Regions from separate parts of the Homo sapiens genome. Here regions 2, 3, 4, 5, 6 and 7 are each linked to region 1. Evidence: promoter capture Hi-C in 16 types of primary human blood cells and fetal thymus (Javierre and others, 2016). All regions are on one chromosome and are shown on one strand. The core of a region is centred on a gene start or on the middle of the fragment in contact, and the rest is flanking DNA. Distances in the headings are between cores, read along the strand shown. Region 1 holds the start of LCORL (ligand dependent nuclear receptor corepressor like). Region 2 overlaps CLRN2 (clarin 2). Region 3 has its middle 23 kb from the start of CLRN2. Region 4 overlaps MED28 (mediator complex subunit 28). Region 5 overlaps FAM184B (family with sequence similarity 184 member B). Region 6 has its middle 340 kb from the start of LCORL. Region 7 has its middle 300 kb from the start of LCORL.

Evidence for each region. Contacts are between HindIII fragments. The CHiCAGO score rates a contact against its expected background, and 5 or more counts as called.
Region 2: a contact is called between a fragment that was not itself captured here and the fragment with the promoter of LCORL in region 1, in 2 of 17 cell types (monocytes and total CD4 T cells). The highest score is 7.0, in monocytes.
Region 3: a contact is called between a fragment that was not itself captured here and the fragment with the promoter of LCORL in region 1, in 5 of 17 cell types (erythroblasts, total CD4 T cells, activated CD4 T cells and 2 more). The highest score is 7.6, in erythroblasts.
Region 4: a fragment that was not itself captured here is called in contact with the fragment with the promoter of LCORL in region 1 in 9 of 17 cell types (monocytes, total CD8 T cells, naive CD4 T cells and 6 more); the score reaches 10.9 in monocytes.
Region 5: a contact is called between a fragment that was not itself captured here and the fragment with the promoter of LCORL in region 1, in 1 of 17 cell types (naive CD8 T cells). The highest score is 5.6, in naive CD8 T cells.
Region 6: a fragment that was not itself captured here is called in contact with the fragment with the promoter of LCORL in region 1 in 2 of 17 cell types (endothelial precursors and M2 macrophages); the score reaches 8.8 in endothelial precursors.
Region 7: a contact is called between a fragment that was not itself captured here and the fragment with the promoter of LCORL in region 1, in 1 of 17 cell types (endothelial precursors). The highest score is 5.7, in endothelial precursors.

The regions. Positions count from the first base shown.
Region 1 is chr4:18,020,096-18,023,846 of GRCh38, reverse strand. It overlaps LCORL (ligand dependent nuclear receptor corepressor like), which reads left to right and starts at 2,092. Exons shown (of 8, transcript NM_001394446.1): 1 at 2,092-2,249. The coding sequence starts at 2,096. RefSeq lists an enhancer at 1,461-1,720 and silencers at 1,771-2,230, 2,551-2,880. The HindIII fragment of the contact is 12,000 bases long and covers 1-3,751 here.
Region 2 is chr4:17,518,620-17,522,370 of GRCh38, reverse strand. The region is part of intron 1 of CLRN2 (clarin 2); the gene reads right to left. Among named protein-coding and RNA genes, the nearest start is that of CLRN2, 5.3 kb to the right of the region's middle. The HindIII fragment of the contact is 4,330 bases long and covers 1-3,751 here.
Region 3 is chr4:17,535,955-17,539,705 of GRCh38, reverse strand. No RefSeq gene overlaps it. Among named protein-coding and RNA genes, the nearest start is that of CLRN2, 23 kb to the right of the region's middle. The HindIII fragment of the contact is 576 bases long and covers 1,575-2,150 here.
Region 4 is chr4:17,630,749-17,634,499 of GRCh38, reverse strand. It overlaps MED28 (mediator complex subunit 28), which reads right to left. Exons shown (of 4, transcript NM_025205.5): 4 at 395-3,751. It overlaps FAM184B (family with sequence similarity 184 member B), which reads left to right. Exons shown (of 18, transcript NM_015688.2): 17 at 612-811; 18 at 1,875-3,751. The coding sequence ends at 1,968. Among named protein-coding and RNA genes, the nearest start is that of MED28, 18 kb to the right of the region's middle. The HindIII fragment of the contact is 5,359 bases long and covers 1-3,751 here.
Region 5 is chr4:17,650,138-17,653,888 of GRCh38, reverse strand. FAM184B (family with sequence similarity 184 member B) reads left to right here. Exons shown (of 18, transcript NM_015688.2): 11 at 906-1,059. Among named protein-coding and RNA genes, the nearest start is that of MED28, 37 kb to the right of the region's middle. The HindIII fragment of the contact is 5,533 bases long and covers 1-3,751 here.
Region 6 is chr4:18,360,231-18,363,981 of GRCh38, reverse strand. No RefSeq gene overlaps it. Among named protein-coding and RNA genes, the nearest start is that of LCORL, 340 kb to the right of the region's middle. The HindIII fragment of the contact is 3,222 bases long and covers 39-3,260 here.
Region 7 is chr4:18,320,104-18,323,854 of GRCh38, reverse strand. No RefSeq gene overlaps it. Among named protein-coding and RNA genes, the nearest start is that of LCORL, 300 kb to the right of the region's middle. The HindIII fragment of the contact is 5,768 bases long and covers 1-3,751 here.

The DNA of each region.
Region 1 (3,751 bases), core at 843-3,342:
CAGTAATCCTTGATACTATTTACCAATAAATTCTGGTTATCTTCTTTTTGCACATATAATAGGATCGCACTTCCCTGCTCCCTTTAAGATAGATACGCCCGAATAATTCGCTTTGGTCAATGAAATGTGAGAACTGACTTGTATCACTTTTAGGAAGAACCAGTTCGCCATTCTTCATCTTCCTTTTGCCTATCACCCAAGGGGGGACGTTGCAGAGATTCCAGCCTCTTTAAGGATCCAGTTGCTTAGTGAGACCACATGGAATGAAGCCCCCTCCTCCTGCCACCCAGAGATGAACATGTAGATAATCAGGAAATAGTTTTTTGTTGTTGTTTTAAGCCACTAAGATTCTTGGATCATTTATTACTGCACCATAATTTTTCCCATCCTAACTAATGTAGATTACTATAAAAGTGATCAGGAAAACTGCAAAGGCTGATCATCGTGGCAATTGTGAGTGGAAGTGGTTAACTAAAACCATCCACTGACAATTCCAAAATCACCTTCACTAGTGATTTCACCTGCACTCCAATTGTGACCGTTCTAGAAAAGGTGATTATGCGTTCAAACTTTATTATTTTTAACTTATGAAGATGCAAAATTACATCTTCACTACTGAAGTCATAATGAGCAAAGAAATACTTTCTCATAGGAAGAAAAAGAAGGTGGATAAGGATAAGCCACAAAACAGGGAAGGTGGTACTGAATTCAGAGTTTATGAGATTTCCAAGAAGAATTAAACATATTTCCCACAGACTTGTGAATAAATTTCCAGAAATACACAGTACTTCTTAGCAAACGTTGGGTAGCTTAGCTTCGGCTTGATAAACTGCACTTATACGGAAACAAACGCACAATCGCTCTGGTGCAAAAGTAAAAACTGTGATTGGAGTCTGTATTTAAACGTAAGATTCCTCTCTAGCTCTCTCTGAAGAAGTTATTTTCTCTAGCACGTGGTAGAATTCATTCCATTAACCTTTGTAAAGTGCTTAATCCCGTGTCACGCACTGTACTAGGGTCTAGCGAGTGACAGATGTCACGGTACAGAGATCTCAGTGGGTCGCTGCCCTCCAGGAGCTTATAAAGAAAATTTTCCTTCTGCAGTTTTCAGCCGGCTACACCCAGTCCCCTGCAAGTAATTTTCAGTGAAAAAAACCCGCATCTTTTTCCTAGTCCTTGCAAATATTCTGGCTTTCCGAGATCTCTTCGCCTTGAATACCGAAGTCACTCCGGGATCTCTCTCTGGACGTTTGGCAGTTATTCCAGATGTAGCCGAATGACCGGCTTGCCCTTTCCCTGCGGAGTGACAGGAAGACAGCGACCCCGGAAAGTTTCCAGCACTTAAAACGCAAAGCGCAGCCTGAACCCACAAGGAGCCGACAACTCTTGCGGCTTCCACCACCCTTCTATCGCGGAGCCTAAGGAAGCTAAAGCAGTCGGGTCAGACCCGGCCACCGGGCAGCGCATGGTTCCGGGCGCAGGGAGCGACAGACTCAGCCCCCCAGCGGCGCGGCGCAGAGAAGTTGCAGGCCAGCCTGCATACCCAAGTGCGGGGGGGAAGAAAAACAAACAAACAAAAAAAATCCTTTCTTCTGGACTACAATGACCGGCAAGCAACGCGCCACGGCGCCAAGTTCAGCTTCGGGATCCTGGCGAAATGGAGCCTGGGAAGTGAAGTCTCCGGACTGTCGGAGTCCCGTAGTGAAGGCAGAAAGTAGGCGTTGCTAGTCCGCTCCACTAGCACGCCGGTTCCTGGCTGGGCTCCGGGTCTCTCGCTCCCGCTCAGGGTTTTCGCGGGCGGCGGGAGCGGTATGGCTCGCCTGAGTAAACTCCAGCGGGAGGGGGAGGAGGGTAGTGGGTGGGGAGGCGGGGTCAGCGGAAGCGGCAGGTTGCTTCCTTCTCCTCTGGCTCCCTCCCCGCCTCTCCCTGAGGGAGCGGTGGGAGGGGGAGGGCAGGGCAGAGGGAAGGTAGTGACACGTGTCAATCAACCCCCCTCCGGGGGGCGCGCGCTCCGGGGCTCGCGCCGAGGGCTCGCGCCCCTGCCTCGTGCCTGCGCTGCTCGTATGTAAATGAGGGCGCGTGACGCGGGACGCAGATGGACAAGGGAAGAGAGAGAATGGCCGCTGCCGCCGCCGCTGCTGCCGCCGCCGCCGCCGCCGCTCAGTGCCGGAGCCCTCGGTGCGCGGCGGAGAGAAGAGGATTCCGGCGGGAACTCGACTCTTGGCGCCACCGCCTCATGCACTGTGTAGGTAAGAGAGACGCGGGCCGGGGCCCCGGGCTCCGCGCGGCGACCGCTGTCGCAGCCCGAGGAGTTTGTGGCTGAGGGGTTTAGTTGAATCTCCCGTTCGGGTTAGTTCGGTGGGGGAGCGAGATGGGAGCGGCGCGGCGCGGCGGCCCCGGCGCTCGCCTTTTGTCTTGCGGGCTGCTGGCCCGGCGCGGTCCGCGCTCCTTCGCCTTCCCAGCTCTTGGGCTCCCCGGGAACTGTTAGTTTGGACCCGCTTGCTGAGCCCCCGCGGAAGCCGCCCGCTCGCTCTCTCCCCGAAACTCCTCGGCGCCCGTCGCTGCCCGCCGTCGCCCGCCGTCCACCCTGACAGGACGGAGGAAGCGGCCCGGTGGGTCGGCGCCCTGGCGGAGGAGAGCCGGCGGGCAGGGCGGCCGGAGGAAGGCGGGCTGGTCCGCGCCCCCGCCGAGCGCACACACACCCCCTTGTCGCCGCCGGGGGCCGGGTGAGCAGACGCGGCCAGTTCCCGGGGACCTGGACCTGGAGACCCACGGGCACTCGCAGGGCGGGGGCCGCTGATGGGCCGGCTGGGGGCGAGGGGCGGCGGGGGCGTCGTCCGAGGGGCGGGGGGCGCCCAACTCTGCCCTCTCGCGCTCGGCGGCGGCGCTGTGTGTACCCCTTTAAGAAGGAGCCGCTTGAGCGCTGACGGTTGGGATTTGAAGTTCTTCCTCCCTCTTTGGAAGTCTGGACGGATGGGGGGTGTTGCCACGGCAACGACACCCTCCCCCCCGTCTGCTTGCGGACGCCCCGACGACTCTGGTCCTCTTTCACTGTCATGTGATGGACTCTTCCTTACACACACACACACATATACACGCATACGCATCGCCCTCCCCACCTCCCATCCCCATTCAACTGCAATTCCCTCTTTTTGGTTGGATCTGAATCGTTTTGCCTCAAACTTCTGGGCTTGGGGCTCTCACCCTGTGGATTGTTTAGGGTGACAGGAATGGTGGGACTCCCGACCTTGCTGCAGTCGCTTTTTTTTTTTTCTTTTTTTGCCTAAGACGAATGCATAGAGCTGTTATCCAGCAGGTTGGTTTAGTGGGCTTAGAGGGGCGAACACGGATTATGGAATGGGGCGCGTTGTGGGTGTTTGTTTTGGAAGGGGGTTATGGGTGGGAGTGTAGGGGAAGAGGTAGAAAGGAAGGTTGTATTGTGTAAGCAGTGGATAGTGGCAGCAGCTTGCTCTACTGGCGAGTGAATCTTGGCATTTGGAGTTGGGGAGTAACCCTAGTGTCTTAAGAAAACAACTCTCTTACCTTGTTTCCATCTGCTCTGGCACCACCTCGCACCCCCGACCCCGCCTCCCATGTATTTGGTTAACGTCTTAAGATCTTTTTTTGACTAGTAGAGAAGAGATCGTATTAGGTTAAACTTAATACAATTTCAGTTCAGAAATGTGTACCGCAGAACGCGATGAATATAGGAAAATGTATGAGAAAGGAAGGTTACTTTAGGGGGCATTTA
Region 2 (3,751 bases), core at 490-2,989, 500 kb after region 1:
TAACATAATAGAGTAGCTCAAATAGTGCCTGGGAAAGTCAGTTCTCAAAAATGGCAGCTGTGGTTATTGCTGTTATATTTTGACAGTCTTGGGAAAGTCATGTGACTTCTCAAGCCTCAATTTCTTCATCAGTACAATGGGGATAGTAATCCCTGCATATGAATTGAGGATAATCAACATTTACTAAGTGCAGTCATGGGCCAAACATTTTACATCGTCATCTTGTTCAATGTGCATGACAAAGACATGAGGTAGATTTTATAAACTCCTTATACCCACAGGCTTGGAGACATTAATTGCTTGTGTTTGGGGAAGGCAACTCTTAATTCTATATAAGATTATAGTTCAATATACTATGAGAACAAATGTGACCCTGAAAGAGCCCGTCCTTCAAGATGGGTCCTGAGTGGTTAACTGGCTCTAAATTTAAAGTAGGGCCAAGTGGCCATTTACTGACTAGGGGGTCACACGCATCTTCTGAGTTCCTTGAAAACCCACACCTTTTTATCTTTGAGATCTGCCTCAGCCAATCAGGGCTCAGCTGTAATGACCAATCGGGGCTCAGCTGTACCAGCTAATCAGGGTTCAGCTGTATCCACCAATCAGAACTAAGTGAATTTGAATCCTTTATTTACCCAAACAGACCTGACTGGAAACCTGGGTGGGAACTTTTGCTATAAAATCTGAGCCTTCCCTTTCTTCTCTGGAATACACCTTCCTTTTACACCGGAGGCTGTGTTTCCCTGGTTTGCAAACCGTTAACTGGAATAAATTCTTTACTCCAAATTCCTTTTCTGAGAACTGTTGTTCACAACTGTATGGTATCAACAGTGTCAAGTCATGATCTTTAGTAGTTTTACATGAAGAATTGAACATTATGAAAGCTACAGAACTTCTGAGCATACTCATTCCTCTGCAATTGCTCCAAGGTTCCTGCTGAATACCCACCCTGATGGAACTAGTTCCTTTGCTGGTTCACCTGCCTCTCTTAGTCACTGAAGGTTGGCGTCTCCCAGTCCTGAGAACTAGAGTTTTTGTTTTTCCCGTTAGGTGTCCCGTTAGGTGACACATTTTCAGGCACTCCACGTTTACATTGTGCGTTCTGATGTTTCTTTCCAGTTCTGAATTTCCATTTATTTTTATCTCCCTATGGTTATCTAATCAGCATTGGAAACTTTACCCTGGAAGATGAGCTCCTTTCCAGTGAGTTTGTCTTTGTAAAGCGTCTTTCTTCCCTGTGCTTCTATCCCATCTTAATGTCCCTTAGATTTTTTTTTTCTCTTTTCAAACTCTCAGCCCCTTTTTGTTTCAGACACAGTAGCTTGTGCTGATATTTATTTATTTTTATTTTTAAAGACAGAATCTTGTTCTGTCACCCAGGCTGGAGTGCAGTGGCACCATCTCGGCTTGGTGCAACCTCCTTCTCTCTGATTCAAGCAATTCTCATGCCTCAGCCTTTCCAATAGCTGGGATTACAGGCACCCGCCTCCATGCCTGGCTAATTTTTGCATTTTTAGCAGGGACGGGGGTTTCACCATGTTGACCAGGCTGGTCTCAAACTCCTGGCCTCAAGTGATCTGCCCGTGCTGGGATTACAGGCATGAGCCACCAGACCCTGCCGCTTGTGCCTGATTTTTAAATTGTTTCATTATCCCCTTTCTTAACCAGGCAATCCTTAGGACACACGACTAACATAGTAATGCTTACCAAAACTCTTACAATAGAAAACAGTCACCTATGTGAATGGTAAAGATCAAAATGTTTGCTAAAACACCGTGTTGACAATGGTGTAAGGAAGAGGCACTCTCAAGTCTCATAGAAATATTAATTCATGTAACCTTGTTAGAGGGCAATTTGGCAACATCTACTAAAGCAAATTCACTTCTAGGAATTTATTTTCCAGAAGCACTCCCACATGTGCTCAAAGCGTGGATCAAATATTGGATATTCATTACAATAGCAAAAGATTGGAGAAAAAACAGTATGTGAATAGACTGATTTAATAAAGTATCCATAATGTCCATAATGTATATAATTCATCTTTTAAAAAGAAAGAATTATATCCACATAATGATTGAAACCATATCCAGATTTGATTTTTAAAAATTGAGAAATAATCATATTAGGATGACGGGGGAGAGGGAATTTGGGGAATGTGGAGTGATGTGGAGAGGGTGGTAAAGAGTGCCCAGTCCTCGGCCTTCATAGTAGGAAGTGCATTAACTATAATTAAAAAATACTTATTGGCAAAGGGCAAATCTCACTCAACCCCCACATTCTTGGGCCATAACACAGGGCTCAGGACCTCATGTTTAATAGAGATTTTATTATTTTTTAATATATGTCATTATTTAGAAATTCGAGGCTGGGGCAGTGGCTCATGCCTGTAATCCCAGCACTTCTGGGAGCCATTATGGGGGGATTGCTTGAGGCTAGGAGTTGGAGATAAGTCTGGGCAACATAGCAAGGCTCTGTCTCTAAATTAAATTATTTTTTAAAAAAGAAGAAAAAAGTAGAAATTCAAATCATTTCTCAGGAGTGTTAATGCACCAGTTCTTTCTACTTTCTCACTGAGAGGTGACTCTGCCTTAGCCTGACACCCAGTGCTGCCCTAGGAAAGCTGTTGCTCACTTGCCTTTCACATTTGAAATCCAGGTTCCAAGAGTTTTAGATGTCTCCCACTAGGAATTAAATTTAAGTTTCTAGCTTGAAATCCATGACCCTACACACGACTCATGGTGATAAATGACAACACGATTCATGGTGATAAATGACAACAGCCACCTATATGGGGTGCAGACTATGTGCCGGTGGCTTTATACATATTCTTTGTTCTGTTGCTCATGGACACCCTCTCTCATGCTTACAAATGAGGAAACTGAGGCTCGGAGAAGTGAAATAGCTTAGCTACGCTCCCACAGCAAGAAAAGTGTCAGCTTAACTACTCTATTACAGGGCTAGAGCAGAAAAATCAGAAAGCACAGATAAGTAGAGGTTTAAAATTCTAAACATAGAGTCTTTTGAATCCTGGAGGTCTCATTTTGAATTTGAATAGATATAGTTGTTTCCTACACATTAGAGGCAACTCACTTGAAAGCAGAATTGATTAATCATTCTATCAGCATCATTCTATCAGCATATGATGCATCTATCAGCATCTATCAGCATATGATGCATCTATCAGCATCTATCAGCATCTAAGATAATTTGTTTGCTCCGAATCCCAGAGAGGTCTGGCAGTCCTTTTCGCCCCAGCAGGGCAAATAAGAAAAGCAGGACATCTGAAGTCAAACCCAGGTCCTGGCCACTAGTGGAATACCTGTGAGGCAGGAAGTAGAGAGGAACCAGAGAACTAAAAGCTGCAAAGCAATCTATTACATTAGGTGCTTTTAAAGAAATTATTTTATGTATCGATTTCTCTGGTCTCTAATTTCCTCATCAGTAAAATGGGCGTAATAAAATCTCTTCTCTAGCATAGTAAAAATGGAAGGAAATGAACTACAAGGCAATGGCTTCAGATACTGTGTTCTGTGCCTAGTATATATTTATCTGCCTCTCCTTTATCAGATGGTAAATTTTTCTTTCTTTTTCCTTTCTCTTTTTTTTTTTTAGATGGATTTTCACTCTTTTCACCCAGGCTGGAGTGCAATGGCACAATCTTGGCTCACTGCAACCTCCACCTCCCAAGTTCAAGTGATTCTCCTGCCTCAGCCTCCTGAGTAGCTGGGATTACAGGCACCTGCCACCACGC
Region 3 (3,751 bases), core at 613-3,112, 480 kb after region 1:
TGAAAAGGCTACACACTGTATAGATACATATATAGGTACATACACACATACTGTACCTACATATGTATAGATATTGCAAAATTCCAACTGGCACATTACAGGCATTAGCCACCACACCTGGCCTATTTTCTAAATAATTTAGGAACAGTTTCTGGGTGCTTAACATCTGTCAAAGAGCAAAAGCCCTAGAAAGATTCCTGTCCTGGCTGGGCGCAGTGGCTCATGCCTGTAATCCCAGCACTTTGGGAGGTTGAGGTGGGCGGATCACCTGAGGTTTGGAGTTTGAGACCAGCCTGACCAAAATAGAGAAACCCCATCTCTACTAAAAATACAAAATTAGCCAGGCGTGGTGGCTCATGCCTGTAATCCCAGCTACTCAGGAGGCTGAGGCAGAAGAATCACTTGAACCCAGGGGGTGGAGGTTGCAGTGAGCCGAGATCGTGCCATTGCACTCCAGCCTGGGCAACAAGAGCGAAACTCTGTAAAAAAAAAAAAAAAAAATCCTGTCCTCATAGAGATGACATTCTCATGGAGAAAGACAGGCAGTATACAGTAAGTATAACACAAATATCAATTATCTAGCATGTTAAAGATAAGCAAAAAGAAAACGTCGAGCAGGGTAGTAAAGATGAACAATAGTGGTAAGGTATAAGGCAGGCTTCACTATTAAACTGGGTTTAATTTGAGGCGAGACTCAAGTTCACAACGCAACCTCAAACCTCCTGAGAAGTCAATTCCCAAAATAGATGGGAAGGCAATTCCTAAAGTTGTGAGAGATGATGTAATCATTTACTTTGTGAGTAAGTGTCTTTTTGCCCTGACAAAGCTTAGAATTAAGTACAAAAATACTTAAAAGAAGCAAAATCAAGGTATTGATATTTTTGATTTTAAAATTTGTACTTCCTTATTATTTTATGTATTGGTGATGAAAGAGAAGCTGGTCTGCTGGTGAAACAGGACAGCCGTATATTTCTAATGATTTGGAATCATGTTTTGCTTATTTATATACAGGGCTGGAATTTTTTTTTTTTTTTTTTTGAGACAGAGTCTCGCCCTGTCGCCCAGGCTAGAGTGCAGTGGTGTGATCTCGGCTGACTGCAACCTCCGCCTCCCAGGTTCAAACAATTCTCCTGCCTCAGCCTCCCGAGTAGCCGGGATTACAGGCGCCTGCCACCACACTCAGCCTTTTTTTTTTTTTTTTTTTTTTTTGTATTTTTAGTAGAGACATGGTTTCACCATGTTGGCTAGGCTGGTCTCAAACTCCTGACCTCGTGATCCGCCCTCCTTGGCCTCCCGAAGTGCTGGGATTACACGCTTGAGCCACTGCACCCAGCCAGAATTTTTAAGATAACTTAAGGTTCACAGCATTTTAACTTTAATTCATTAGACTTAGAAGAATTATTAAATTTTGTCAGTTAATTGAAGTGCATGGAAAATAAATTAAGTTACATAGGCTGTTTCAAGATGTTTATTTAGTACATTCATAAAGGGGACCAAATGGTAAACCAAAGCTTTTAAAAAGAGATCACTAAAATTTGCTAACCTAAAAAACAGAACAATAATATTTATAAGCTTAACTTCAATTTAAGGAGAAACAAATTTTGTGAATGTATAACTTTAATAAATGGAATATTACCTATTTCAATGTATTATTATTATTATTTTCATTTTTGCTGAAAGGCATACAACGTGCTATGTAAAGGGAACTTGAAAAAGTCATGCATTCCCATTCTTTACTTTCTGAAGTAACTAACAGTGTTTTTGCCACAGTTTTGTAAATTCTAACTAACTTGTTAAAGTTTGCCATAGTGATGACTGAGAAAAGAGACGAGGCCTTCATGATGAGGGCTTTAAAGAAACAAAGGCATACTTACAAAACAAGATTTAAAACATCACGATTAATTAATTTTCAAGAAAATTGTTTTCATTACAAGGAATAACCTACTACAGCAAAACCCTGAAGGGTGGGCCTTTAAAATGGTTCAGCTGACTACTCACCATAGGAACACTACTTTTCAAAACTAAAGTAAAATTTTGAGTAGTTTGTTTTGGAGTCAGAAATCACCATTACTGACATAGTTAATAAACAGCTGGTATATCAGGAGCCACCTCTCAGGTGGGCCACTTAAGCTGTGGTACCCAGGGAAGCTTCAACAAGAGTAGACAGAATGACTCGAGGATGGCTCATTTCTCTCTTCAACAGTGCTGAGAACTTTTTTCCTTTCTTTTTTTTTTTAAATATATTTTTATAGAGATGGGGTCTCCCTATGTTGCCCAGGCTGGTCTCAAACTCCTGGGCTCAACTGATCCTCTTGCCTCGGCCTCCCAAAGTGCTGGGATTATATTAATAGACAAACATCTCCTTTTCAATAGAAAGAATCCTTTTGTCCTATTCACTCCCTCCTGCCTCCTACCGCACGGTGGCATAAGCCACCACACCTGGTCTGGTGCTGAGAACTTCTGTGGGCCTCTTACAAACATCTCTCTCTCTCTCTTTTTTTTTTTTTTTTTGATAGAGTCTCACTCTGTTGCCCAAGCTGGAGTACAGTGGTGTGATCTCGACTCACTGAAACCTCTGTCTCCCAGGTTCCAGTGATTCTCCTGCCTCAGCCTCCCGGGTAGCTGGGATTACAGGCACGAACTACCACGCCTGGCTAATTTTTGTATTTTTAGTAGAGACGGGCTTTCACCATGTTAGCCAGGCTGGTCTCGAACTCCTGAGCCTCAGCCTCCCAAAGTACTAGGATTACAAGTGTGTGCGCCTGGCCACATCCCCTTTTCAATAGAAAGAATTCTTTTTGTCCTCTTCACTCCCTCCTTCCTCCTACTCCCTTGAAATCTGTAAGGTTGAGAGAATTGTTATGTTAGAAGAAAAAAATGTATTATATACAATTTATTGTTCCGCAAGAGGTCAATGACAAAAGAAAAATCACTGTGGTTCCAAAGTCATTTGTTAGTGTTGCTTATTATTTTTTCCAAAACAGAAAGCAATAAAGCAAACAATTACATGCCATGTTTTTACATTTGTTTTATTTAACCAAGAACTCAGCCGCGAACATCAGAGAAATGCATATACAATATATTCAGAATATAGTTGAATTGGTGGTTGAAATCCTCACAATATTAAATTGTCAGTGCATGTAACAGCATCTCCAATCACACTGGTAGTCAACTATTACCAAATAGCATTCATGAAAATGCCTAGCTTAGTGCCCGGCATATAGTTAGGTGCTTTATTCACTATAAATCTGGATATATTATATAGCATTAAAAGTCATAACATTTTAGAGAGGGAAAGAAAATTAGAGATTATCTTACGCGACTTGGTTATATTATAAATGAGAAAGCTGTGTTTCTAATTCTTTAACTTGTGAATAAATGTAATGAATAAATGTGAATCTGAAAGAGTCAATCCTTCAACATGGATCCTGAGTGGCTAACTGGGCCTAAGTTTTGAATACAGCCAAGGAGCCATTTGCTTATTAGAGGTCAAACATACACTCTGAGTTCCCCGCAAACCCACACCCTTTTAACTTGGAGACTTTCAGGTCTCACCTGAACCAACCAATCAGAGCTCACCGGCCTTGGCCAATCAGGACTCAGCTATATAAACCAATCAGGGTGCAGCTCTACCAACCAATCAGAACTCAGCTGTGTTGGTCAATCAGAGCTAAGAAAGTTTGAATCCTTTATTTTCATAAGCAGACCTGATTGGGAAGCTGGGGTGGACGTTTTGCTATAAACCTGAACC
Region 4 (3,751 bases), core at 669-3,168, 390 kb after region 1:
ATACAAAAATTAGCTGGGCTTGGTGGCAGATGCCTGTAATCCCAGCTACTCAGGAGGCCGAGGTAGGAGAATCACTTGAACCCAGGAGGCGGAGGTTGCAGTGAGCTGAGATCGCACCACCGTACTCCAGCTTGGGTGACAGAGCAAGGCTACATCTTAAAAACAAAAATAGTATTTTTAAAAATAGTTCACAGGACAATACACTTGTGACTTAACTAATGTCATCTCGTGTAGTTTTTATGTATCCCTCATTGTGACAAAATACAAGTTTCACTCCAGAAATTTAAATAAATGCATTTGAGGCTAGGGTGGGCCCATCCCCTGCTGGGGGTGTTACATGACCTTCTAAAATCTTAAACAAAATTGAGTTGCAAAACACATCCATCTCCAGAAGTTTTGGTTAAGAGGTTGTGAACATACATATTTATTTATAATACAAAATGAAGATTGGAGGGAAAAGTGCTTTAAAAAATAGCATGTAAGTGTATAAATGAAATTGTTGCTTCTTCTCCGATACAATTTTGATTGGGTGAGCATTATTTGCTTTTACAATAATGCTTTATTTTGTTTTTTGCATTGCATTGCACTAACCTGTCCATTAATACAAACAGAAAAAGAAGGTGGAGGACGTGCCCAGCCGCGTGGTCAGCGTGCCGAACCTCGCCTCCTATGCAAAGAACTTTCTGAGTGGCGATCTGAGTTCCAGGATTAATGCCCCTCCAATAACTACATCACCCAGCTTGGACCCAAGCCCCAGCTGTGGCCGGACCTACAAACCCAACCAGTCTACAGATGCAAAAACTGCCACAAGGTTTGGGGGATGTTGGGGACAGGGGCCCTTATTCTATTTCCCTGTAGATAAGAGGGGAAGTAGGATTCTTTCTAGCACCTGGTACCAAATTCCAGAAGGCCTTTTTTCATGGATGATTAGACAAGGGACACTGAATCACTTACCTGAAAACTTCAGCATGGGTTATACAAAAGGTGGACTCCATCTGGCCTGGAGGTCTGAATTCAAATTACAGTCTTCCTCATTCTTAGCTCTGTGGCCTTGGACAGGTCACTTGACCTCTCCAGGTCTCCATATACCTTGCCTTTAAAATTAAGATAATACAGCACCTATCTCATCAGACTGACGTGAGACTAAAGGAATTAATCCATAGGATGTGCTTAGCACAGGACTTGGCACAAAAATCTTCAATATAGTTTCAGTATTATTACTAACATTATTCCTCAAGATTTACTCTATCACCTTGGAATTCTAAAGTCTCTTAATCGGGCCGGGCTTGGTGGCTCACGCCTGTAATCCCAGCACTTTGGGAGATGGAGGTGGGTGGATCACCTAAGGTCAGGAGTTCGAGACCAGCCTGGGCAACATGGTGAAACCCATCTCTACAAAAAATACAAAAATTAGCCAGGTGTGGTGGTATGCGCCTGTAATTCCAGCTCCCCGGGAGGCTGAGGCACAATGATCGCTTGAACGCAGGAGGCTGGAGGTTGCAGTGAGCCGAGATCATGCCACTGCACTCCAGCCTGGGTGACAGAGGGAGACTCTGTCACAAAAAATAAAAACAAAGTCTCTTGATCTGTAGGTTTGGTTAATCCTGCATTATTAGAGCTACAACCACTAAGTCTCAAAGGAACAATGGAGAACCAAACAATGGTGAACCTTCTGTTTTCCAAATGAGGATTAGGTACTCCCTCCCCAGCCCCATCCTTTACAATTTGTTTCCCACTACTAATGTTGGCCAGTCCCATTTGGGTGTTTTTGAAGAGTAAACAAGCAGTTATCTTTCCCTGAAAAGATGGTGGGTATTAAGCTGCTTCTTGCATAGTTTTCAAAACCATATAAAAAAACCTTTTTTTGCTTTTAGGACCCCAGATGGTGAAACGGCCCAAGCCAAAGAAGTCCAGCAGAAACAGGGCTCTCCGCACCAGGAATGGTTCACCAAGTACTTTTCTTTCTAAGCTAACCTTTGGGATACATCACAGAGGATACTTGAAAAACATTTATTTTAAATCATCCGATTGAAGGAATGAACTAACACCAACCAACCAAATAATATGCTTATGATTTATATATGATAGCTAAAACAAATTTTGGCGTTAACACTTCATACTGTTCTGCCAGGCACAGCAGCTCACGCCTGTAATCCCATCACTTTGGGAGGCTGAGGCAGATGGACTGCTTGAGTCCAGGAATTTGAGACCAGCCTGGCCAATATGGTGAAACCCCATCTCTACAAAATATACAAAAATTAGCCAGGCATGGTGGCGTGTGCCTGTGGTCCCAGGTACTTGGGGGACTGAGGCGGGAGGATCACTTGAACCTAGGAGGCAGAGGTTGCAGTGAGCCAAGTTCGAACTCCTGCATTCCAACCAGCCTGGGTGACAGAGGGAGACCCTGTCTCCAAAAAAAAAAAAAAAAAAAAAAAAAAAAAAAAAAAAAAAAAAAATTGACATTAAACCAGTGTTATTAAAAGTCATCTATAGGAAAATGTTATTAGCGTTACTAATGACCCATACCTTGTATTTCTAGTGTCCATAACATCATACTCCATTTTGTGGAACATCAGACTTTGTGATTTCCATGATCTATTTCAAAAGTGGTTGTACTTGTCCTTAGGATGCTAGTCAACTCCACTGGAAAGCTGTTTCTATGTAAAATGATGCAATTCCAAAATGCACATCTAACCTCAATAGGAAGACAAATAACAGTTAAACAGGAAAGCCAACTAAAAACAAACCAAACCTACCAGAAATGGATGGTAGCATGCTTGGACTGAATACTTTCACTTCCTTGGTCTAAGACAAGCAGCAGATTATAGATGGGATAACACCCACCTCTAAAAGGGCTTTGCAAGGATTAAGCAAGATAACATAAATTAACATGAATTGGAATTAAGTACCACAAGGTTTTTCTGTAAATAACCAATCCTAGCCCAGTTATAGGTCTCAGTGTAATGACCATAGTGCCAACATGATCACTTGTGAAGGTCTCTAGATTATCTGTTCTTTGAAGTCAAAGATCTTCTAGACTGGGCACATGGCTCATGCCTGTAATCCCAACACTTTGGGAGGCTGAGATGGGAGGAGAGCTTGAGGCCAGGAATTTGAGACCAGCCTGGGCAACACAGCGAGACCTCCATCTCTACAAAAAAATAATTAGCCCAAAGAAAACCCAGCTACTTGGAAGTCTGAGGTAGGACAGCATGAGCCCAAGAGTTCGAGACCAGCCTGGGCAAGATAGTGAGATCCCATCTCTACAGATTAAAAAAATATATATATATATCCCCTGAACCTCTGGTCTTTGGGTTTGAGCCATTTGCCTCATGGTGTGTTGCTTCTTCACTGCATGAATTCCCAGTGGGTTAAAGGAACCGCAATGGCTGTTCACGGTGCTGACCTTGCTCTCAGTCCACACTGATTTGTCTTACCTTCTGACAGAGCAATGTGATTTGACAAGACTCAATAACAACTTTTAGGGGGCAAAATATTTTTTCAGTCTTTGGTGCTGGCCCAGAAGGTGGCCCACAAACCAATGTTAATTCTATGCATTGTCAAATCTTTGCTCTTTGAATAAAACTTTGAATAACTGGGCAATAAAAATGGTTGACTTGTATTGATTTTCCACAGAAAGGTAAAATTAGATGAAGACAGCTTAGAAATAGAAAGTTCAGTTCACATTAACCTCAATCACACCATCTTAAAAAAAAAAAAGCTGATTACATATAACTGTCAAACTTACGTA
Region 5 (3,751 bases), core at 656-3,155, 370 kb after region 1:
TTCTCACTGAGCCTCCTACGGCCCTCTTATAAGGACCCTTGTGATTGAGGCCCACCCAGATATTTCAGGATAATCTCCCATCTAAGATCCTTAATCACATCTGCAAAGTCCCTTTGACCATGTAAGGTAACATACTCAGTTTTCAGACATGGACATCTTAGGGGTTGTTTTTGTGCCTCTCACAGAAACCAGCTTGAGTGAAGTTAGGCAGGCAGTGAAGAGACACTTATTAAAGTTTACCCAGCTGCTCACAGAACTTGCTTTGGGTGTTTGACACACAGTGGGACTTCAGTAAATAAATGTTTGTTGAGTGAAAGCGTGAATGAACCAAAAATAAAAAGTAGGGAAAAAAAGAATGAATGAATATGAACCCAAGGACAGAGACACAGACAGTTCTCAGGACCAAACAAGAGCATGGACTGAAAAGCTGTAGGGACCCCTCACCCTTCCCTATGTCATTCTGCTCTGCTGTGCACACCAGCCCTGGGCTTCCTCCACAGACAGCAGCCATCACCACACTAGTCCTGGGGCAGATGTCAGATAGTTACCTTAGTGCTCCTGAGTATGGTAAATTTGGAGCCACAGAGTCAGTATCTGTCTGTCAGTCTCTTTTGCTCTATCTCCCACCTCTTCATGTCAAATTTACATTAAAGGAACTTTGATTGGCCCAGGTTAGAACAGGTGTCCACTCTGGCCCAATCAGCTGTGGAAGGAGGTGGTTCACCTGGTGCAAAATGGCTGCTGTGGCCAGGCCATTGCTACAGCATTCTCTGTAGCCTGATAAGCCCTCCATGGGAGAGTGCGAGTGTTCAGAGCATCCTGGCTCAGAAGAGCTTGGCAAAGGAGTCAGGTCTCCCACCCTCATGCCCACTTTCATGCCTTCTTGTTCCCACTTTTTCCCACAGGCCACAGAGGAACGCTTGAAGAAGGAATCCAGCCACAGCCTCCAGATCCAACACCAGACACACCGACTGGAGCTCCAGGCCTTGGAGGAAAAGGCCAGGCAAGAGCTGCAGGAGGAGCGTGAGAGGATGCAGGCACAGCAGGCCCTGCTGCTAGGTATACACCCAATAGTGTACTGAGGAGGGCCTGGCCAACTGCAGGGTCTGCATGTAGAAACCAGAGACAAGCTGAGGGCCAGGGCTCCAGGGTTCTCGGGCTCACAGGCCACGGCTCCGGGAATCTCAGGCTCACAGGCCAGGGCTCCAGGGCTCTCAGATTCACAGGCCAGGGCTCCAGGCTCTCAGGCACACAGGCCAGGGCTCCAGGGGTCTCGGGCTCACAGGCCAGGGCTCCAGGAATCTCAGGCACACATGTCAGGGACAATCCTGGCTCTGCCACCAACTAGCTGTGAAACCTGGGATGGCTTACTGTGAGTCTCATTTTCCTTTTGTATAAAATTGAATTACAGTTGTCCCTACCTCATAGGCTCACTGTGTGGATTAAATGAGATATTAAACATAAAGGCCGGGTGTGGTGGCTGACGCCTGTAATCCCAGCACTTTGGGAGGCTGAGGCGGGTGGATCACAAGGTCAGGAGATAGAGACCATCCTGGCTAACACAGTGAAACCCCGTCTCTACTAAAAATACAAAAAATTAGCCGGGCGTGGTGGCAGGTGTCTGTAGTCCCAGCTATTCGGGAGGCTGAGGCAGGAGAATGGCGTGAACCCGGGAGGCAGAGCTTGTACTGAGCCGAGATGGCGCCACTGCACTCCAGCCTGGGCGACAGTGCAAGACTCAAAAAAAAAAAAAAAAAAAGATATTAAATATAAAGTGTCTAGCATATAACAGGAGCCCAGTGAATGTAGATACTATCATTATCATCATCATCATTATTATTGCATGTAACCCAGATCTCTGAGCCTTCATATGAGTTTCATGGCATTGCCTCAACCTCTCATTTCTGTTCTGAAGATTTCGGCAAATTGGAGGATCTTAGGCCTCCAGGCTCTGCTTCCTCTGCCTGCCCCCACATCATCCCCAGCACAAAACTCTCCCCCTTTTCAGTTGCCACATCAATAAAACCACTCACACACAGCATCTTCGAAGTTAACAGAGGTAAAGATCTCTAGAGCCAAACTGCCTGGGTGTGAAGCCCAGCTCTAACACTCACTAGCTGTGTAACTTTGGGTAGGAATTTGCTTAACTGCTCTGTACCTCAGTCTCCCATCTCTAAAATGAGGATAATAATAGCATTCACTTCACTGGGCTGTAATGACAATTACTTGAGTAAATGCATGAGAAGTGCTTCAAATAGAGCCTGGTATGCAGTAAGTCTATCTAAGTGTTCCCTGTTACATTATGACTGAATGTTTCTTTTCTTCTTTTTTTTTTTTTTTTTTTTTTTTTTGAGACAGAGTCTTGCTCTGTCGCCCAGGCTGGAGTGCAGTGGCATGATCTCAGCTCACTGCAAGCTCCGCCTCCTGGGTTCACACCATTCTCCTGCCTCAGCCTCCCGAGTAGCTGGGACTACAGGCGCCCGCCACCACGCCCGGCTAATTTTTCTGTATTTTTAGTAGAGACGAGGTTTCACCGTGTTAGCCAGGATGGTCTCGATCTCCTGACCTCGTGATCCACCCACTTCAGCCTCCTAAAGTGCTGGGATTACAGGCGTGAGCCACTGCGCCCGGCCATGACTGAATATTTCAATGTTGTATGCCTGATTCTGGAGACCTCTCTCATTTTTGTAGATCATCCCTGTCCCTCATTTTCTCCTTTACTGTCATCTTTCTTACTCTTAAGAGCAAGACAAATAACCTCTCACCATTTCATGCTGAGCACTAAAGATCATGTTGGCTTTATTAAGTATTTCTTCCAAACCTAGACAGGGCTCTCCTTAAGAGATTTCTGGGTGCTGAGTGTGGTGGCTCATGCCTGTAGTCTCAGCACTTTGGGAGGCCAAGGTGAGAGAGGATCACGTGAGGTCAGTAGTTCAAGACCAGCCTGGACAACATAGCAAGACCCCCATCTCTTTAAAAAAAAAAATTAGGAAAAGTAAAAAGAGAATTCTGGAGGACAGCATTTTCTTTACCTCCATAAGTGAGTTAGGCTCTACCTTGCTGCTTGGTTGAGTTCTCATTAGAAAGCGTGTCCCACTGACTGCATGTTTCTGAGGAAGTGGTGTGAGGAGCAGGAAGGAAAGAGTTTCGTAGACTTCCCAGTTAGCAGCTACCCTGGAATGGAGGTGCCTACATGGGAAATGCTGAAGTTAGCAGCATGTAAAGATAGAACCCAGGCTGTGCCACATGGCTCAGGTCCAAGGCTCCCCATGTACAGGTCAGGCTGGACATCCTGGTGATTCCAACACCCAGCAGCAGCTGCCAGTGCAGCTGTCCCTGCCACCCCTTCCCTGGCTTTTCTGACTCCACAGCAGCCCCATTCTTCCCCAAAGAAAAGAATCAGGAGAGATCCCTGGAAAGACCCTGGGGAAAGGCTGGGCTTCTCAGCACCAGTCCCAAGAAGAAGGGGCTTTGTGGACTCTGTGATGACAACAAATCATAGGCTTCAAGGGAAGGTGCAAGCACCTACAGTAATGGCAGGTTGATATGAGATATTCCTGATGCTGATTATTCTTCTTCTTATATCTGTGTGAGACACAACTGACCTGCAATACTATAGGTCCCTGTGAGAGGGCAGGGAGGGTGGGTGTTTACTAGAGGGTTGGGACCTAGACATGCTAGATGGATGGATGGATGGATGGATGGACAAGTGGATGGGGGTGTGGGTGGATGGGTAGTTGGGTGGACAGGT
Region 6 (3,751 bases), core at 400-2,899, 340 kb before region 1:
AAACATCTCATGAAAGATAAACAAATGGCAAGTAAGCTTATGAAAAGATGCTCCAAATTATATGTCATCAAGAATTGTTAATTAAACAATAATGAGATACTATTATATGCATATTAGAATGGCAAAAGTTCATAGAACTGACAATGCTAATTACTGATTAGGATGTAGAACAACAGGAACTTTCATTCATTGTTGATGGGAATGAAAAATAGTGCAGCCACTTTGGAAGACAGTTTAGCAGTTTCTTGCAAAACTGAGTTTTCTACAAAGTCTTATCATCTGTATTAGACCGTTTCACACTGCTGGTAAAGATATACTGGAGACCGGGCCATTTACAAAAGAGGTTTAATGGACTCACAGTTCCACATGGCTGGGGAGACCTCACAATCATGTGAAGGGCAAATCTCATATGGTGGCAGACAAGAGAAGAGAACTTGTGCCGGGAAGCTCCCCTTTATAAAACCATCAGATTTCATGAGACTTATTCGCTATCATGAGAACAGCACAGGAAAGACCTGCCACCATGATTCAATTACCTCCCACTGGGTCCCTCCCATGACACGTGGGAATCGTAGGAGCCACAGTTCAAGATGAGATTTGGGTAGGGACACAGCCAAACCATATCACCATCCATCCAGCAATCATGCTTCTAAATATTTACCCAAATAAGTTGAAAGACTATGTCTGCACAAAAATTTGCACAAGATGTCTTTTAAAGGTGAATAAATAAACAAACTATGGTAGACCCATACAATGGAATATTATTCAGTGATAGAAAGAAATGAGCTTTCAAGTCACAAGAAGACAAGGATGAACCTTATATGTATAATGCTAAGTAAAAAAAAAAGCCAATGGGGAAAGACTACATACTGTATGATTCCAATTCTATGACATGCTGGAAAAAGCAAAGCTATAGAGGTGGTAAAAAGGTCAGATTTCAGAGAGAAGATGGGAAAGGTAAGGGTTGTGTAGGTGAAGCATGAAAGATGGGATCTTTTTTAGGGCAGTGGAACTATTCTGAATGACACTGTGATGACGGATACATTATACTCTTGTGTCAAAAATCCATTGAATTTCAAAACACAGTGAACATCAATAATTGTAATTTTTAACTAAATATTTTGGAATCCAAGAATGGAATCTGGAATTTAGGAAAACATTATGACAGTACTACAAGTGTACAAAACAACTTCGCTGAAGGACATGAAAGAATAAAGGTGGTAATCTAAACAACTTTAGAAATGTGTGAAGTCTGTAAGAGCAAAGGCAAAAGAAATTATATCTAGGTATTGTAGTCTAATGAATAAAGTTGTTTACCACAGAGGTATTGACTTACAATTCTTATACAATTATAAATGTAAACAGAAATTAAACAATTAGGTAGATGGATGGAAGATAGTGGGAGCCACTTCATACTGTTGGAGTTAGAGGTTACAAATTAGCAAGAGACAGTCTAGAGTAATCTGTGTGCTTACATTTTAGGGCTGGAGACATCGGTAACAACTCTGTTTAGCTTAACACAAATAGTTCCACATAGAAATATTTATAGATATAAGAGTATAGACTGGTTCTTATGTATGAATATATCCTTAGTCTGTCAGCTGATAGGGCCTAAAGTGACAACACCCCAGTAGCAATGAACAAGCCTAGTACCTAGATCTTGGGGTTAGTATCATTCTTCAGCACTTCTTTTTGTAGAAATGCCTGATTCTAGGACTGGGAAAGGAAATACAGAAAATGAGACTGGAGCATCCTGTAGTGCCAGAAAGTAAGGAAATGCTCAAATTTTAATTAGTTAATTATGAGAATATGTCAAAAGGGCACAAAAGTCACTTGAAAGAGTTCCTAATGGCCAAAACTGGAAAAGTTTGTATAACAAAATAAATTAAGTAATAGATGAAATCTGCTATGGCTTCAATGTTTGTCATTTCCAAAAGTCATGATGAAATTTTGTTGCCATTGTAACAGTATTAAAAAATGGGATCTTTAAAAGGCGATTAACCAATGAGGGCACCACCCTCGTGGATAGGATTGATGTTGTTATGAAAGGGTGTTTGCATCCCTTTTTCCCCCTCTCTCTTGCCCTCTCTTGCTGTTCTACCATGTGATGACACAGTGAGAAGGCCCTCACCAGATGCTAGCACCTTGATATTGGACTTCCCAGCCTCCAGAATTGTGAGTCAATAAATTTCTGTTAATCATAAATTACCCAGTCTTGGGCATTCTATAATAGCAGTACAAAGCAAACTAAGATATAGCTCAAAGTATAAAATAAATATTGATAGGCCAGACGCAGTGGCTCATACCTGTAATCCCACCGCTTTGGGAGGCCGAGGTGGGCAGATCATGAAGTCAGGAGTTCGAGACCAGACTGACCAACAGCGTGAAACCCCGTCTCTACTAAAAATAAAAAAATTAGCTGGGTATGGTGGTGCGCACCTGTAATCCCAGCTACTCAGGAGGCGGAGGCAGAAGAATCGCTTGAACCCAGGAGACAGAGGTTGCAGTGAGCCAAGATCGCGCCATTGCACTCCAGCCTGGGTGACAGAGTGAGACTCCATCTCAAGAAAATTAATTAATTAATTAATTAAATATTGATGAATCAATACAAATACAAATAAATTTTTGAATGACTAAATAGATTTGGAGAAGACAAAATCTCCCATGTGGAATTCTGAATAATTTATGTAGATACTCTCTCCTTCAGGAAACAAAACAGTTCCCCATTCCTTCAGTGTAGGCTCCATGTGTTGATATATTTTCAAAGAACACAATATGAAAAACAGAAGGAAGAAAAGTTACTTTACAATGAAGAAACCTAACAAAAAATACTCAACCAGGTGATAAAAGTTAACATCAAAAATAGTCACATTTATAGTAAGTACTCTTGATACGACATGATAAAAATGTCCCTTTACCACTGTGGTATTCTTCCTCAAAACACACAACCCCGGTCTAACAATGAGAAAAACATCAGGCAAGTTCAAATTGAGGAACATTCAACAAAATACCTAACCAGCACCCTTCAAAACTATCACAGTCATCAAAAACAAGAAAAGGCTGAGAAATTCTCAAAGCCAAGAGGAGCCTAATCACACATGACAGGTAAATGTAATGTGACATCTTAGATGGAATCCTAAAATAGAAAAAGACATCAGGCAAATCGTAAGGAAATCTGAATAAATTCTAGTCTTTAGTTAAGAATAATGCATCAGTATTCATTTATTAATTGTAACAAATATACCATACCAATGTAAGCTTCTAATAATAGAGGATCCTGCATAGGGTATATGGAAATGTACTATGTTTACAATTATTCTGTACATCTAAAGCTGTTTTAAAATTAAATATTTATTTTTGAAAAATTATCTAATTACAATGAGCATGAAAAATATTTTAAAGAAAACTGAAATCCAACAGTTCTAAGAAAGTAGGAGCAAGGATCATCCAAAAGGCTTTGAAACAAGAAAACACACTGGACTTGGAGTCTCTCTACTGATTCCCCTGATGGGGTTACACACTTATCTTTGAAACTCTGTTTAATGGGATTGAAAACAACATGGATATGTTCTGTTCTGGTGGGATCTAGCTTGTTTCCTTGTTTTGTTCTGCTTGTTTGTTTCTTTTAAAAATTTGTACGCAGAGAATTGAAGCAAACTTCTCAGTTTATGATATATTGCTATCATTGGTGCTCGATTTGTCCTTCTATTGTATTTCATTATCTTTACTCCTGTTTATTCATAAAACACTC
Region 7 (3,751 bases), core at 515-3,014, 300 kb before region 1:
AATGGTACTGCTCTCAGTTACTAAATGTCTGCTACCCTAGGGACTCTAATGGACATTATTTCATTTAAGACTCAGACCAGCCCTTGAAGGAAGATATTTTTATCTCCAACTTAAATAATGAGAAAATTGAGATTCAGATAATTTAAGCAACATAGTCCTAGGTTGCACAGATAAATTAGTAGCATTCTTTCTACTACATCATGCTAAAAGGAGGTTACTTAACTTGGTGGGCAGTGAGGTATCATGGGAGGGTTTGAGCAGAAAAATGGCATCCTCTGAGCTATGCCTTAGGAGGATTAATATGGTAGCAATGTGAAGGAATAAAGGATGGCAGAGGCACCAATCAGAAGACTATTGTACGTTAAAACTTGAGGTGATGATGCTCTGAGAATTAGCTATTTTTTTTAAAAAAGTTCTAATTAGGCTTGCTGTGTGTGGCAGTCATTAGTGCTCTTCACCAAATAAATTCTCCAAATATTCTGTTTCTTCCTCTCTTGGGCATAGGGTAGGATTGCACCTCCTTGCCTCCTTAGATTTAGGTGTGGTCATGTTACTTCATTTGGCTAATGAAATGTCAGTAGGAATGACAGGTTTCACCACACTGCCTGTTTTCCCTTCTCCCATGGCAACAAAAAATGATCTACAGAGTATTGGTCCATTAGTCTGGGACCCAGAGTGAGAATGATGTAGAATAGATCTCCTTCTGAGCCATGATAGACAAGAAGCATTTGTGAAAAATAAAACTTGTTTATTTTAAGTCACCAGGATTTTGGACTTGTCTGTTACCATGGTATAACCTAGGTAACCCCAACAGATGTCATGTGTTCTCCTGAGACCTCGTCATTTCAAGCACTGTTGCTCAAACTTTAATGCACACCCTTATACTTAGAATTCTTGTTAAAATGTAGACTCTAGTTAAGAAGGTATGGGGTGAGACACAAGACACTATATTTTTAACAACTTCCCAAACCCAGGTGGTACAGATGCTACTGATTCACACTTTTGTATTGCAAGAGTCTAAAACTGCACTGTCTAGAATGATAGCAAACAGCCACATGTGGCTGTTTAAATTTAAATTCACTAAAATTGAATAAAATGAAAAATCCAGTTCCTCAGTTATACCAGCTCCAATTCATAAGCTCAAAAGCCACATGAGGCCAGTGGCTACTGTATTCAACAACAGAGACATAACACATTTTCATCATCACAAAAAGTTTTATTGAACAGTGCTACCATAGAGCAACATGCAGAAGCACAAAGTGACGATTGGTCCCAGCAGCTTGGGAGCTGAGAATGGTTGAGATTCAGGAAAGCAGAGCTGCTACTATCAAACAGAAACCCAATAGAGAGAGAGTTGAGTCCCAGGACACAAAGCTGAGATGGAATGAAATGTGACATTTGATCTGTGTACAAGACAAATTCTTGCCCTGCCTAATTATTTTTTTCCCCTGTGGATCATTTCAAGAGATCCCATTTCAGGGCAGGCACTTCCAGGGAGCCTCCTCTCTTTTTGCCCTGATGTTGTCTGTCCATTTTGGCTAATCTATTTACTTCCCCTAGAAAACACACGACACCAAGTATAACGCTTGTTTTTGATCTCCTTTCCCCAAGAAATCAATAGCACTCAGAGAGAGCGTGCCTGTAAGCCCAGTCAAAAGAGCTATAGAATTACACAGTGCAGTAGGCACGTGGCTGTGATTGGGTGATGGCTGTTGCCTGCTGCTAGTGATGTTCTATAACCTGGCACCCACTTGCTCCTCTCCCCTCCCCTTCACTGGCAGCTCAAACAGGAGAAAACCTCCCGGTTCATTTTATCCTTTCTTCCTCACCTCCACTCACTCTGAAAATAGTAGACCCCCTTTTTTAGATTTTGACTTGGACAGAGGTTAATAACCTGAGAATTCCATGGGCACAGGAGAACAGTATGCAAAAGTTTGATGTATGTTGCATGACCCCCAATGGGCCGCAAGACTAACAGAGAAGTGGGGAACAACTATAGCTTGCTCCATCCAGATTCTAGTAGCCCAGTGCATGAGTTGAGGAACAAAAACAACTAAAAAGGAACAAGGATATTAGCAGAAAGAGAGAAGAATAGACAGGAGTAAGGAACTGCTTAGGAGTGACTTGCTGAAAAAAATACTGACAACCACATGGAGTGGAAGACAATGCCAACAAAGATAACAACTCAGACCATATGCCTCATTAAGCATGAACTCACTTTTCACCCTTCCCCATGTTACTAAGGCTTTAGTCGCACTGTCAGAGAATAACCTAAAACTGGTTGAAATTAAGTTCCCCCGCTCAGCAGTAAAGAAGATTATAACAAACATTAAGTTAAAGTTGCATCCTTCTACACCATGGTAGACAGTGCAACTTCTTGAAGAGTCTATAACTTTTAGCAGATTCTCAAAGGACTCCTTGGAGGCTCTCTGACAAAGCACATGGTGCATCTGTGAGTATAGACTAGAGTTGGCCTTGTCCTTTCAAGGATCTTTCTCTTCCACTTTCTTGCTTCCTGCATAGACCAAGAGGCTTGACCTAACTGCCAAAACCCCACTGGTAATAGTGCTATGTTCAGGACTTGCAGAAATGTAGTACTTTAGTCCTTTTCCAACAATTTCACCTGAAGACCTCCAATTGCAGGAGAGAATGAATTTGAACCTACCCCCTTCTCTCCACTCCAGGGATCTGAGGCAGAGCTCAAAATGGTCATGATCTTTGAAGCACATCAAGTTCTTTGAAGTCTGTGCTACATTTTTAAGCATTCTGAGTTTTTACCCTATGATCCAGTCATGCTGTTCAGATATAAAAATTATGATTTTTATTATAGATCTTCAAGCATAGCTTGAGTATCCTTTATCCGAAATGCTTATAACTAGAAATGTTTTAGATTTCAATTTTTCCCCAGATTTCAGAATTTTCAATTTATACTTACCCAGTTAAGCATCCCAAATCTGAATATTCCAAGTCCGAAATGCCCTAAACAGCATTTGCTTTGATCGCCATGTTGGCACTCAAAATATTTCAAGTTTTGGAACATTTTGGATTTGGGATGCTCAACCTGTACAATCAATACACAGAAAGCCACATCATGCTTAATCTGTGAATTAATAATGTAGGTTCTTCTTATCACACATCACCCTGGACCCCCCAAAATTTGTAACTCTGTGTGAGAAGCATGGTAGACTTTGTTGGTTCTTTGGACATTTTGTGTGCGTCTACCATGCGCCTTGCCTTTGCCAGGTACTGATAATACAGAGATATAAAAAACCTGCCCTCAAGGAACTCACTGTCTAGAAGATATAGAGAAGTAAAGAGTCATAATTCTGTGTGTGGGTGTGCAATGGCAAAGGGAAGGACAGGCTGATAGAGAACAGTGTACAACAACAAGACCTATTGAAGGTGCACTCAGATAATGTAGACAAAGGTCTTTGCTTAATTATTCTTCTGAGAGGTGTGAGTCCCTTTAAGGAAGCAGAGTCCCTTTAAGGAAGCAGAGTCCCTTTAAGGAAGGAGAAAAGAACTTGGGTTTTCTTGAATATCTAAGGGCCCCCATTAAAGATGGCCCCACTACACTCATAAGCAGCTGATTTGCACATGGCCCTACCTTCTCTGCTGGATCGTGATGTGGTCCCAGCCAGTCAGTCATTTCCTTTGGGCTGTGATTATCACACACACACCCCCATAATATAAAGTAGGGTGGAGAAGGAAAGCCCAGGAGCAAGCAGAGACGTCTACAGCCACACATCTT